Linked DNA regions of Homo sapiens: region 2 is linked to region 1. Evidence: promoter capture Hi-C in 16 types of primary human blood cells and fetal thymus (Javierre and others, 2016). All regions are on one chromosome and are shown on one strand. The core of a region is centred on a gene start or on the middle of the fragment in contact, and the rest is flanking DNA. Distances in the headings are between cores, read along the strand shown. Region 1 holds the start of FAAH2 (fatty acid amide hydrolase 2). Region 2 has its middle 8.4 kb from the start of ZXDA.

What was found. Contacts are between HindIII fragments. The CHiCAGO score rates a contact against its expected background, and 5 or more counts as called.
Region 2: a contact is called between a fragment that was not itself captured here and the fragment with the promoter of FAAH2 in region 1, in 2 of 17 cell types (total CD4 T cells and activated CD4 T cells). The highest score is 10.4, in total CD4 T cells.

The regions. Positions count from the first base shown.
Region 1 is chrX:57,281,644-57,288,068 of GRCh38, reverse strand. It overlaps FAAH2 (fatty acid amide hydrolase 2), which reads right to left and starts at 1,363. Exons shown (of 11, transcript NM_174912.4): 1 at 1,052-1,363. The coding sequence starts at 1,243. The HindIII fragment of the contact is 1,960 bases long and covers 1,341-3,300 here.
Region 2 is chrX:57,898,812-57,905,294 of GRCh38, reverse strand. No RefSeq gene overlaps it. Among named protein-coding and RNA genes, the nearest start is that of ZXDA, 8.4 kb to the left of the region's middle. The HindIII fragment of the contact is 1,479 bases long and covers 4,089-5,567 here.

The DNA of each region.
Region 1 (6,425 bases), core at 114-2,613:
AATTACAAAATCACAATTACTTTTGCACCAACCGAATACATCCCATTGCCTCCCTAACTGGTAGAAAAGCATGCATGAGTGGGTAGAGGCTGGGGAGGGGGTACGGCAAGAAGACAGGATATGTCTTTGAAAGGTAACCAGGAGTACAATACAAATATTAATAATTCATACATTCAGGAGCACATACTGAGATAGTATTTGCTGCATGCCTATTCTTTGTTAAGTAGTATTGTAGATTCTGGAAATAAAGCAATGACGAAAAACAAATGAAACAGCAGAGAGGTGAAAACAAGCAGAGTATAAATAAACAATACTAGACTGTAGCTCAAGATCTCCAGGTAACCAATCACTTATATGACAGAGATGAATAGTCCTGCCTGCACAATTCTATAGAGAACGAATGAGCTGCTTAATTTTTTTAATTTAGAACTTTCAACAATTTTTGTGCAAATCATTTTACTTCAGTTTCCTTATGCATAAAATATGAATATTGCCTATATAACTGCATCCGTGAAATAGAATATGTTTAAGTACCCAGGCAGAGTATTTCACATATACTATGCAATAAATATATGGTAGACGCAGCTTTTACTATCCTAGACCAAGTACTACTTTTACTTTAAATCAATTTTAAAAAGAATTGGTTGAATGGTAAGCAGCAGGTTGATCTGGGGCCTGTGAGAGACGGAAGAATAGAGAGAGAGAAAGGGAGAGGGAGAGAGAAAGAGAGAGACTGACTTTCCATAGCTGAGAATCAGTTTGAAATTCACACCTGCTTTACCCCACACACAGTAATTATGCACAAATAGGACAAATGGATAGGAAGGACTATGACGGTACCAAAATAGTCCAACCCATGCCCACAGTAAATGTCCTTGGTAAAAATAAACGTACTACAACACCCAGAAGTCTCCCTTCATCCCCAATAAATGCCTCTCCTAAGTCGCCCTAGTAGAGAATGGAAAGGAAACCACAACCACCGCCACCACTAAGCTTCCTGGATCCTGCTAAAAGACCTGTCCCTCCAGCCTCTTCTGAATTGCATTCTCACCTTTCTCTGTCGGATCAGCTTGGCCAGCTGCATCCCCGAAAGCAGAAGCAATGGTTCAGTCACCGGCCGAGGGGTCTTTGAGGCAAACTTTGGACCCCCTAAGACTAAAGCTGCTCGGCCTACTAAGCCTATGAGAAAGCCTAGCGCCCGCAAGAGGAACAACTGAATGCGGGCGGTAAATGAAGGTGCCATCGCAGCCTGGATTCCGCACGGTCCTAGTGCTTGAGGGTTACGTGCACCCTGGGGAAAGGACGAGAAAAGTACTAAGCAAAGAGGGACTTATGAAGCTTTTCGTTTACAAGTCCAGTGTCTACCCACAATTCCACAGGAGCTTGTTTATCATCACCTGCAGGGCTCCTAGCCAGAGATGGGGGCGGAGACTTCCCAGCAGCTGCCTGTGTGCAATGCTACCTGTCGTTAGTGCTGTTGTAACCCAAGACAGAAAATGCGTCATAAGAAAGAACACTGGCCTTGGAATTCCCCAGTTCTGCTACTGTGTAGCCCTGGCCAACCTACACTATATCTCCTAGTCAGTTTACTCATAAGAAAAAAAATGGGAATAACTACTCCTATATCAAAGGGTTACCATAAACACTAGATAATAAGTAAAAACATTTAGCACAATTTATGGTAAATAGTATAAGTGGTAGTTGTTATAGTTTATTTCAGCTGTGCTTGTGAAAAAAGTGTTGTAAGTATACCTTTGTATGCAAATATTCAGTATGCTCAACAAACAACTAAATGGCAAGTATATATATATTTTCCATATGCATATTATTTAATCCTTATAAGATCACTAACAGGTAGTACTGATGAACATCAAATCTCCAGCCCATCTGTCTCCTAAACTGGACACTTGAAATGCCTTTTTTGACATATCCATGTGAATGTCTTCCAGATCGTTCAAACTCAACAAGTCCAAAACTCATCCTTTTGTCCCCCAGACTGCTGCCCCTACAGGTCTACAAATGGAATTTTCATCCACCCAGTCAGCCATGCCAAAAATCTAGAATCACTTCAGATTCTTCCATTTCTCTTATTCTCATGACAGAATCCAGCCCTTCCTTCTCAACTCAGTCTGGCTCAGATCTCACTGAGGTTTACATGAACTTCTACAAATAATCTAGCTGATCACTCTGCCTTTATTTATAGAGTGTTCTTTCTAATATGTAAATCTGACAATATTACACCCCTGCCAATAACTCCGCAATAATTCTCCATTTTCCACAGATTCAAGACCCATCTACTTTGTCCAGCATTCGACTCTCATGACTGGTGTCTGAAAAACTCTATGCTTCATCCCTAACCCCTTCTATCCCTCACATGCTAAGCTCCTGACAAACAACTATCCGAAAGTTCTCTCTTCCCTCCTTATCTTTGCATCTGCTTTCCCAACCTCTTCATCTAGTTCAGGACAAGTACCACCTCCTCCAGTAAGTCTTCCCTGAACTTACAACTGGGTGTGATGCCACTCTTTTGTAACCCTGCACTCCACAGATTAACAAAATCATAGCACTTACAACCCTCTGTTATGTGTTAGGTTTTTGTGTCTATGCCCCATCTAGATATAAACTCCTCGAAGAACAGGGTCATTCTAATTCCTCTTTGTATTGCCAGAGCCTGACATAGGGCTTGATGAGAAGTCAATACAGGTTTGTAGGCTGAAGGTATGTGATTATGAGATAATGAGCGTTGAAGATAGGGATTCGAGCTTGGCATTTAAGGTCTTGGGTAGGTGAAATGACAACGTCATCCAGGTCACTGTCTTTTCACCTGCAGAACTTAGGTTGATACTGAAAGTGTCATCACAGCACTTCTAGCCTAATTCAAGCACCTGGTAGAAAGCAGGTTAATCATGACAGGCACATCTAGCAGATCCAGTAAAGAAAGCTGATAAAGCAGGTTGTCATAATCTAGGCTCCATTACAGTTCTGAGCAAAACCTGTTAGCTGAGTGAAACTTCCTTACCAGAGAAAGGTTTTGTCAAAATGAAAATATTTACTTTGCCCAACTTTTGTTACTTTATTTAAGTTGTAAATGACAAATATGTGAGCCTGAGGTACAAAGAATGCTCACTGATTGGGCTCTGACCAGACAGACCTGAATCCAAATCCTAGATCCAGCACTCATTATGTTTTTGACCTTGAACAAATCACTTAATGTCCCTAGGTGTGTTTTCTCATCTGTAAAGTAGAATAACAGCTGCCATATGGTGTTATGAAGATTAAATCACATATGGATGTAAAGCTTCTGTTTTTTTTTTACAATCTTAAATATTTTAATTTTATATTAATAGTTAGACCATGTTAAGTATATTGCCATTGTTGGCAACATATCACCAGAACATTTTTATCTTGCAAAATGAATACATACTATACATGAATCGACTACCTGTTTTCCCCATTGACTGGCCCTTTACAAATGCCATTCTATTTTCTCTTTTTAAAAGTGCAACTACTTTAGCTAACTCGTATAAGTGGATTCATACTTTTTATGATGGACTTATTACACTTATCATAAGACCATTAAGATTTATCTTTAAAATAAATGTTAAATTTCCTGCTTTTTAAAAGCTGAATAATATTCCAGGTTTTGTTGTTGTTGTTGTTGTTGTTGTTGTTTTGTTTTGTTATGATATGGTGTCTCATTCTGTCGCCCAGGCTGGAGCGCCACTGGAGTGCAGTGGCACCATCTTGGCTCATTGCAACCTTTGCCTCCCGGGTTCAAGTGATTCTCCTGCCTCAGCCTTCCAAGTAGCTGGTATTATAAGCACCCACCACCATGCCCAGATTGCAGGCTTTCTTCCCGGGCACGCCGCAGGATAAGGCCCATTAGCTTGGGACACTAACAAGGCTACCCCAGCCCTGCCTGAGTTCTCAGGCTGGAAGCAGCTCCACACTTCCCTGGGACAGAGCTCCCAGAGGGAGCAGGCAAGCTGACGTTTTTCCACGCTCATGTTCTCATCAGGCTCTGGAGGTAGTATAGAAGTTGGGGACTGACGCGAACCCACAGCACAGCGCAGTCACCTTAAAGGAAAAGCGGCCAGACTGTTTTCACGTGTGTCCCCACCTCCGCTGCTCTTCACTGAGCAGTGCCTCTTGACCTGGGCCCCAAGCACAATCACTCTGCTTCCACATAAACACTTTACTCGGTAGCAGCTCTGCGTTTCTGAGGAGGAAATCCCAGAGACAACCCACAGCTTCTCTGCCATTGCAGCTGCAGTGGTACTGTTCTGCTGCATTCAGGCCAGGGAATAAAACAAAAGGTCGAGTTGCTACACTGGAGCCTCCAGCACGCTGCAGCCACCATACAGAGAGGAGCCCAGTCTCTCTTCCATGTAGGCTCCCACCCCACACTCTTCACCAAGCAGGGCCCCAAGCCTGGATCTACACAGACGTCCCACCCTTGGCAGAGCATTCCCTCTGCTAGTGGCTTTGTATTTCCCTGGGGGAGGGGCTCCCAGAGGCAACTGACAGCCCCTCTGCCACTGCCATTGCAGTGGTTCTTCCCCTGCTGCCCTCAGGCTGGAGAAGAAATGAAGATCCTGAGGGCTTTACTCACATTTCTAGCAAGACACAGTCACCATACAAAGAAGAGCCCACTCTCTCCTCCCTGTTATCCCTCGAACCCCGACTCTTCCCCAAGCGGGGTCCCCACCTCAGGCCAACAGCACAGTTGCCTCACCCCCTGGCTGAACATCCCCAGTAGCAGTGACTCTGTGTTTTTTTCTGAGATGGAGGTCCCAGAGACAACCAAAAGCCTTTCTGCCCCTGCCACTGCAATGGTAGTGCCCTTGCTGCCCTCAGACTGGGAAAGAAGCAAAGACGCACAGTGCTTTAACCACACCTCCAGAAAGCCACAGCCACCATAAGGAGAAGAGGCTGGTCTGTTCCCTCCGCAATCCCCTTCCCATCCCCAGGCAGGTTCCCATGGCTTGGGCCAAAAACGCAGCTGCCCCACCCTTGACTGATTGCACCAGTTGATATCCGCTCTGAATTTCTCTAGGGTAGAGCACCAAAAGACACGGGAAAGACCCTCTGCCATAGCCACTGCCAAGGTCTTGTCCCCTGCTGCCTCAAAAGTGGGGAAGGAAAATAAAGATGAGCTCACCACAAGGTTGTGCTGTACAGCTCGCAAGTGCCAAACAGAGGTCTACAGACAGCACTTCTGTGGGAGAGGAGCCTACACTTTCAGAACAGTAACAGAAAATTTGATGGCAATCATGAGGAAATACAGGCGAGCCACATGGCTAAGCAAGAGCGTACCTATTAACCATTACATTTAAGCACCATCTAGTGGATTACAACCAAATTTCAACACCGAAAATACTGTTAATATATCCCCCAGTGAAACCAAGGACAAGAACTAAGCTACAAATAAAGATCCTGCAAAAATGCTTAGACTGCTGAAAACATTCAGAAAAGAAGTCAACTGATTATACTCATATTACACTACAGTTGAAGGAACATCAACCCACACAGAAAGAATGAAACCATCAACGGAGTAAACAGACAACCTACAGAATGGGGGAAATATTCACAAACATCAAACAAAGATCTAATATCCACAATCTCTAAGAAACTTAACAAGCAATAAACAAATAACCCCATTAAAAAGTGAGCAAGAAACATAAACAGACACTTCTGAAAAGAAGACATACAAGTGGCCAAAAAACATTAAAAAAATGCTCATCATCACTAATCGTCAGAGAAATGTAAATCAAAACCACGAAGAGATACCATCTCACATAGTCAGAATGGCTATTATTAAAATGTCAAAAAACTAACACATGCTGGTGAGGTTGTACAGAAAAGGGAAAGCTTATACACTGCTATAGGCGATATAAGTTAGTTCAACCATTGTGGAAGGCATTTTGTTTATTTCTCAAAGAACTGAAAGAAGAATTACCATTTGACCAAGCAATCTCATTACTGGGTATACACACAAAGGAATATAAATTGTTCGACCACAAAAATACATGCATCTGTATGTTCTTTGCAGCCCTATTCACAATAACAAAGACATGTAATCAACCGAAATGCCCATCAACATTAGACTGGATAACAAAAATGTGGTACATATACACCATGGAATACTACACAGCCATAAACAGGAATGAGATAATGCCCTTTGGAGAAACATGGATGGAGCTGGAGGCCCTTATCCTAAGAAAACTATCACAGGAACAGAAAACCAAATACTGCATGTTCTCACTTATGAGTGGAAGCTAAACAATGAGGACATATGGCCACAAAGAAGGGAAAAACAGACACCACAGCCTACTTGAAGGTGGAGGGAGAGAGGAGGCTGAGGACCAAAAAATTACCTGACTGGTACTATGCAAATTACCTGGATGGCAAAATAATCTGCACAC
Region 2 (6,483 bases), core at 3,579-6,078, 610 kb before region 1:
ATACGAGGATCATCTTTCTCTGTGGATTAAATGCTTCATATTCTCATCCAAGAAAAATAAGATAAGGCATTAGTATAACAGGGTATTTTTGACTGTTCCTTGATTCCACATAAAGCAATGATTAACTCCCTGATGGGAATATTCATAATCCCTTGGTAATTATTGGTATCAAACAGATCCACTTGATAACTTCATGATGATATAAACTAAACTAAATGCAACTCACTCAAAATATGTGACAATTGAAATGTAAGGCCGAACTGAAATTTATGTATATATATAAAAAACTGAAATTTGTATATATTATATATGTAATTGAAATTTATATGTATATATTATATATAAATTTATATATAATATATATTTTTATATTTATATATTATCTATATAATAATATATATAAATTTATATATATATATATATATATATATATATATATAGCTTTTTTGAAAAATAGATTTGCTTAACAATTTTTTAAAAAGCAAGTTGTATGCTAGGGTTTAAAGCAGGAGTCCCCAGCCCCCAGGCCATGGACAGGTACTAGTCCATGGCGTATTAGAAATTGTTCTGCATAGCAGGAGGTGAGTGGCCGCCAGGGAGCAAAACTGAGCTCCACCTCTCGTCAGATCAGCAGTGGCATTAGATTCTCATATAGGAGCACAAACTGTTGTGAACTGCGCATGGGAGGGAGCTAGATTGCACACTGCTTATGAGAATCTAATGCGTAATGATATGTCGCTGTATCCCATTGCCCCAAAATGGGACCATCTAGTTGCAGGAAAACAAGCTCAGGGCTCCCACTGATTCTACATTATGGTGAATATGTAATAATAATATAAAGTGCACAATAAATGTCATGTGCTTGAATCATTCCAGAACTATCCCCCCATCCGTGGAAAAATTGTCTTCCACTAAACTGGTCTCTGGTGCCAAAATGGCTAGGGACCAAGGGTTTAGATAACAGATTGTTTAAGCACAAAAAAAACTATAAAAAGCAAAGCAATCATTAAAAATGAATTTTATATGTTTACAAAATCTAAATAGATGGGGCCTCTGGTAACAATTTTTAAGCTATGGTCCCCTCTGCATATTTCAAGTTAATTTACTGACTCCTTACAGAATGCAAGGTAGAATACTAGGGATATAGATAAGAAGAGTAAAATATGAGCCATATCTTAATTTTGGAGAGGACATAGAAATTCACCTATTAGCCATTTTACAACTAAACAAAATCAACAAACATGTTTTCAGGCACCAAATGAGTGGCTTGGAGTGAAAGGAGGGGCAGGAGCTAGAGTTTAATGGGTGGTTACATTTAGTTATATAAAGAAGAGTGTTGGTGAATTCCAGCCTGGGAGAAAAGCACAAAGAACTCAAAATGGAATTAGCCACACAACACTGTGAAAAACAGCCTAACTCAAATTCAGGGCTCATATTTGGTAAGTGCTGGGTGTTAGGGTTAGACTGCCAGTATGGAGCCAAATTCCGGAAGGCAATACAAACCAGTCAGAGTAGATAGGACTTTATTCTGGATATGATTGAAAGCCAGTGAAGATATTTGAGAAGGGAAGTCAAATATGATTATATAAAAATATTAATATAGTGGACATGTATAATGTGGATACGATGGGGGAAATAGTGCCGTCACATAGGAGTCTGTTGTAGTAATTCCGGAGTGTTGTGATGAAGGCTTGGACTGAAGTGGTGACGAGAAGAGACAGAGATATAGGTGATGTGTCCTAATTGAGGAAATGAATATAATTTGGTGACTTATTGAATGTATAGGACAACCATCAGAAAGAGAAAGGAAGATTAAAAATGTCCCTAAGGATTTCTTGGATACTATAAAAATTACACTTGATTAATATGAACAAAGTTGTGTAATAAAATATTTTCAGGAATATTTATGCAAAGACGATTAGGACATGCTTAATTTATCAGGAAGTGATAAACTATGGCTATCTCTGAATAAATCATGCATAGTCTAGATTATCCACACTGTTAGACGACTTTATCTTGTTTGGCTCCCTCATGTGTTCTTAGATTCACATTTGATGTTTATAATGTTATTTCCCTTTGAGAATCTGCAGGACTCTTCAACCTTGTACAATATAAGCCCAGACTACTCTGTATCAAAATGAGCTATGTCGTCGCTGGCTTCCATTTCTTTCTTACTACTGCCTTCTGCTACTACAGATATTCAACAGGTATTTTTTATTTGGTGCTTATTAATATAACAAATCAGATCTCCATAATTTGGAAGATACTGCTTAGTCATTAATTTCAATAGTTTCTCATGCTAAACTGTGTTAGATTGAGTTTTAACTGCATTTCTCTTAAATTGGAAGAGATAGGACTAGGATTGCCCAAAAACCAACTTCGATGTGATACTTGGGCTTCTTACTCATAATCCTCTCTTTCATTAGCTAACATGGCAAGTGATGATGTATGGAAACTCAATTACAGAAGTCACATCCTCTTTTCTCTTTACACCCTAATGTAACACATTTTATAGTTACCCTGACTACTAATGGTGATAACTCAGTGAGCATGGAGTGCAAAAAAAGAGAGAGTAAATAAATAGTATAATTACCTAGCAATTACATTTTGTTCGGTGGTGACTTTGCTGTCCTGCATTGTCAACAGAACAATACATTTCATTCTAGTTTTCTGCTGACATTTATGCACATGCAAAACACATTAACCATCATTCTGCCTATGGAAAATACCTTAACTCAGTATTTTAAACAAAGGAGATAATTATTCTTATGAGCACTAACTGTGAATCCTTAGACTACCTCTTATCATTACCAGCTTATTAAGCAGCTGGTGGTTATTGAGTGCCTACTCTGTGTGAGGCACTATGAAGTATAACACAAAAGTATGTTGCATTACTTTATTCAAACAAACATTTTTAGCACATATTTGACAAATTCTGCCCTTTACCCACACATATTACAAGCTAGATAGAAACAAAAATTCAGCAAGCAATGACAAATAATATATAATCAATTTCTAGATGGTTATGTATTAGAATTATACAGATTCAGATAGAATGGCAGTTGTTATTTTCACGGTATGGACAGAAAATTATGAGGAATATTTCAATGTGCAGATTATCAGAAGTTTTTTCAAAAAGTTCTAAGAATCTAAAATGTAAGCTGCAATACAGCAATTAGGATAAACTGTCCTAAATTAAAATTTAAACAGAATTGTGACTGGTAGCTTTAATTATAGCAAAATACTATGGGAAATAACTTGTAAATTATGCTATATTTTGATTTGCTCTAGATTGGAATCCCGGATATATTAAGTATAAAACCTGAGAGTGATCTTTTGGAAATTATATAAAACAAACATTTTGTTTCCAAATGAGAAAACCATAGCATATAAATAAATGATTTTACACCTGTAATTTTTGAAATAATTTTTACTTTCCTTATATTGGACACACAAGCAAATTTTAATTTTCTGAAACAAAAAAACAAGACTTTAATTAGAAAGTAGTTATTTTATATAGGTATGCTAGCTGAAAATAAGGCTATAAAGACTTCGTTTGATACTTGGGAATGACAACTACTGGAGTTTAACATGGAGAATCCTGAAACTTCACCAATCATGTGATGAGGGATAGTGTTAATCATCAAGCAGGTCTCTCACATTCTGAATAAAGTATAACTAACTGAATACATTTGGAAAGGAAACAAAGCCCATTATAAAAAAAATAAAGCTCACTATAGTGATACATAATATTTTATGTTCTCACCACAAAAAGTAGGTATATGAGGTAATGCATGTGTTAATTAGCTCTATCTAGTCATTCCACAGTGTTATATATATTTTCAAACATATTGTATATGATAAATATACACAATTTTTGTCAGTTTAAAAAATAAATACATTTAACAATAAAAATTGCAAATGGTAGCCAAAATGAAAACATTTCAATTCTAAGCCAGTCTTTCCTTGGAATAAAGTCAAGAAATGATTCGTCTTTGTCAAGACTTATTTCCCTTTCCTGTGTACACAGTAGAGGGATATAACTGCAGTGTGAAATAACATAATACTGCATGTGGAAGAAGGAAGCTTCTCTCATGTCTATTTGTGGGGAAATTAGCCAAATTAGAGAGCTAAAATGGAAATTCCACAGGCAATGACTCAGTGAATAGAAGTTCATTCCAGGCGAGGTCCAATTTTAGAATGTGCTGCTAGGCAGAGTGAGAACTATTTTTCCTCCCGATTTGTGTTGGCATTAGTTCGTTAATGCTAAACTTGACCCTTGATATTTCCAAAGAGATGCAACAGCTTTCCCTTTAAAGTCATTTTATGTTCTTGTGCTTTCTGGAACTTGTTTTATTTTAAATTATTAATAATAATAGGAATTGCATCAAATGTTATGACATGCTAGTAGAAGAGGGAATAAGCCAATATTATTTTTGCCTCACTTTCTAAAATAGCGTTGATTAAGTAAAACTTGCTTTTCTATTTTTTATGTGAGAGCTCATTTTGCCATTTGGGTATGTCACTTTCATTTATGTACTTAGGAAGCATTAGGATTTAAGAACATTGTTAAAATAAGTCTTTATAACTTTAGAAATGTGGTTACTTTGAAAATGGAAAAACCTAGACTAGCCTTACTACTTTTTTTAGATAACAGGGAAGACTTATGGAAATGAATGAAAGGCAAATTCAATTGGAAAAAAGAGATTAATTTCTTATTAAATCAAATTCTCTGTATTTATAAATTTTGCTGATAAATCCACTCTTGTATATTATTCAGCATATTTCTATTCAGTTCATTTTTAGAATAGTTTATCTACAGCAGTAAGTCTATGTGAAATCTAAAAATTTGACTAACTTTTATTATATTTCATTTTTACAGTAGGCAGTGGATAGTCATTTTCACTGCTAAATCTATGTACCAAATCTACTGAGTATTGCAAAAACACACTGGATAGAATATTATTTGCAAAGTGATTCTTGTTGTCATTCACCATAGATTCTTTTGGGACAAAAAAATTCTTAAAGATAAAATGTTGCCTGTATTTATAAAAATCATTGAGGATTCTTCCCAAAAATAGAAATGAGAAAATAGAATTTAAACAATCAAATGATTAAGTTTGCTCTATAGCCAAGTGTTTTGGTCTAAGTGTCTTTGGTTGAAAGCATCTGGATAAAAGCATAGTGACAATTTTGAAGCATGTCCAGAATTTTCCAGTTACAGTTAGACATAAAAAAAATCAAAGAGCCATTATTGCAACATTGGTAATCTGTCTGTCTAATACAATCTATCTTTTGAAAGTTTCTTGAAGACAGTAATAAGTAAAGAGAAAAGTTACAGATTTGGGCCCTGACTATGAAATGCCAAAATGTTATGAAATTGGAGGCTATTGATTATTTTACATGATAATTTTAGTAGTTGGTGTTTTTAAGTATTTCCACTCCAAGTATTTTTAAGAGTATTTTTAAACTAAATGTGAATCTTTGATTCATGCCTTTAAAATTGCTAATTGATTTTTATTTTATTTTTATTTTCAAGATTGTTGGATTATTCAATTCAATAAGCTTCCAGATACCAACCTATAGATTGTTAGTTGTGAGGCTATATTGTGTATTTTAATTATTTCTTGATATAATTTTAAGTTACCATGTATTGAATTATAACTGGCCCTAAAACATTTTTTAATTTGTAAATTTTATTTTTATAACTTTTATTGAAATATACTTTAAAAATATAACATACATTACAAAATTGCTTTATTAATTTTCAAAAAATGAATACACCTATAAAACCACTACTCAGATGAAAGGATTACCAGAACCTCAAAGCTCCCTCATATTCTCTGCTAGTCACTACCATCCTGTACCAAAATAAATAACTTGATTTTCAAAACCAAAAGTTAGATGTTTTTTATTTGCTTGTTTCTCTTCGTTTATTATTATTATTGAGATAAAATTCACATAATGTAAAATTCACCATTTTAAAATATACAATTCAGTCATTTTTAAAACATTCATAATGTTGCTGAGTCATCACAACTGGGTAATTCCAGAACACCTCTGCCACTCTGAAAAGAAATCCCATAATCATTCTCCATTCCCTCATCTCCAGGAAACCACTAATTTACTTTCTGTCTCTATGGATTTGTCTATTATGCATATTTCATATGAATGGAATTGTACAATATATGCTTTTGTGTCTGGCTTTTCTTAGTATGATGTTATTAAAGTTCATCCATGTTTTAGCACATATCAGTACTTCACTCTTTTCATGGCTGAAATGTATCACATTGTATAGCTATATTGCATTTTATTTGTTAATTAATTAATGGACATTTGAGTTGTTTCCACCTTTAGGTATTATTAGTTTTTGCTATCAATATTTGTGTACAAGTTTTTTTGTGAATATATTAAAACTACAGATTAGTTTTATTTTTAAACTTTATGGAAAGTTTATATTCTTTTTGACTTCTTTTACTCAAC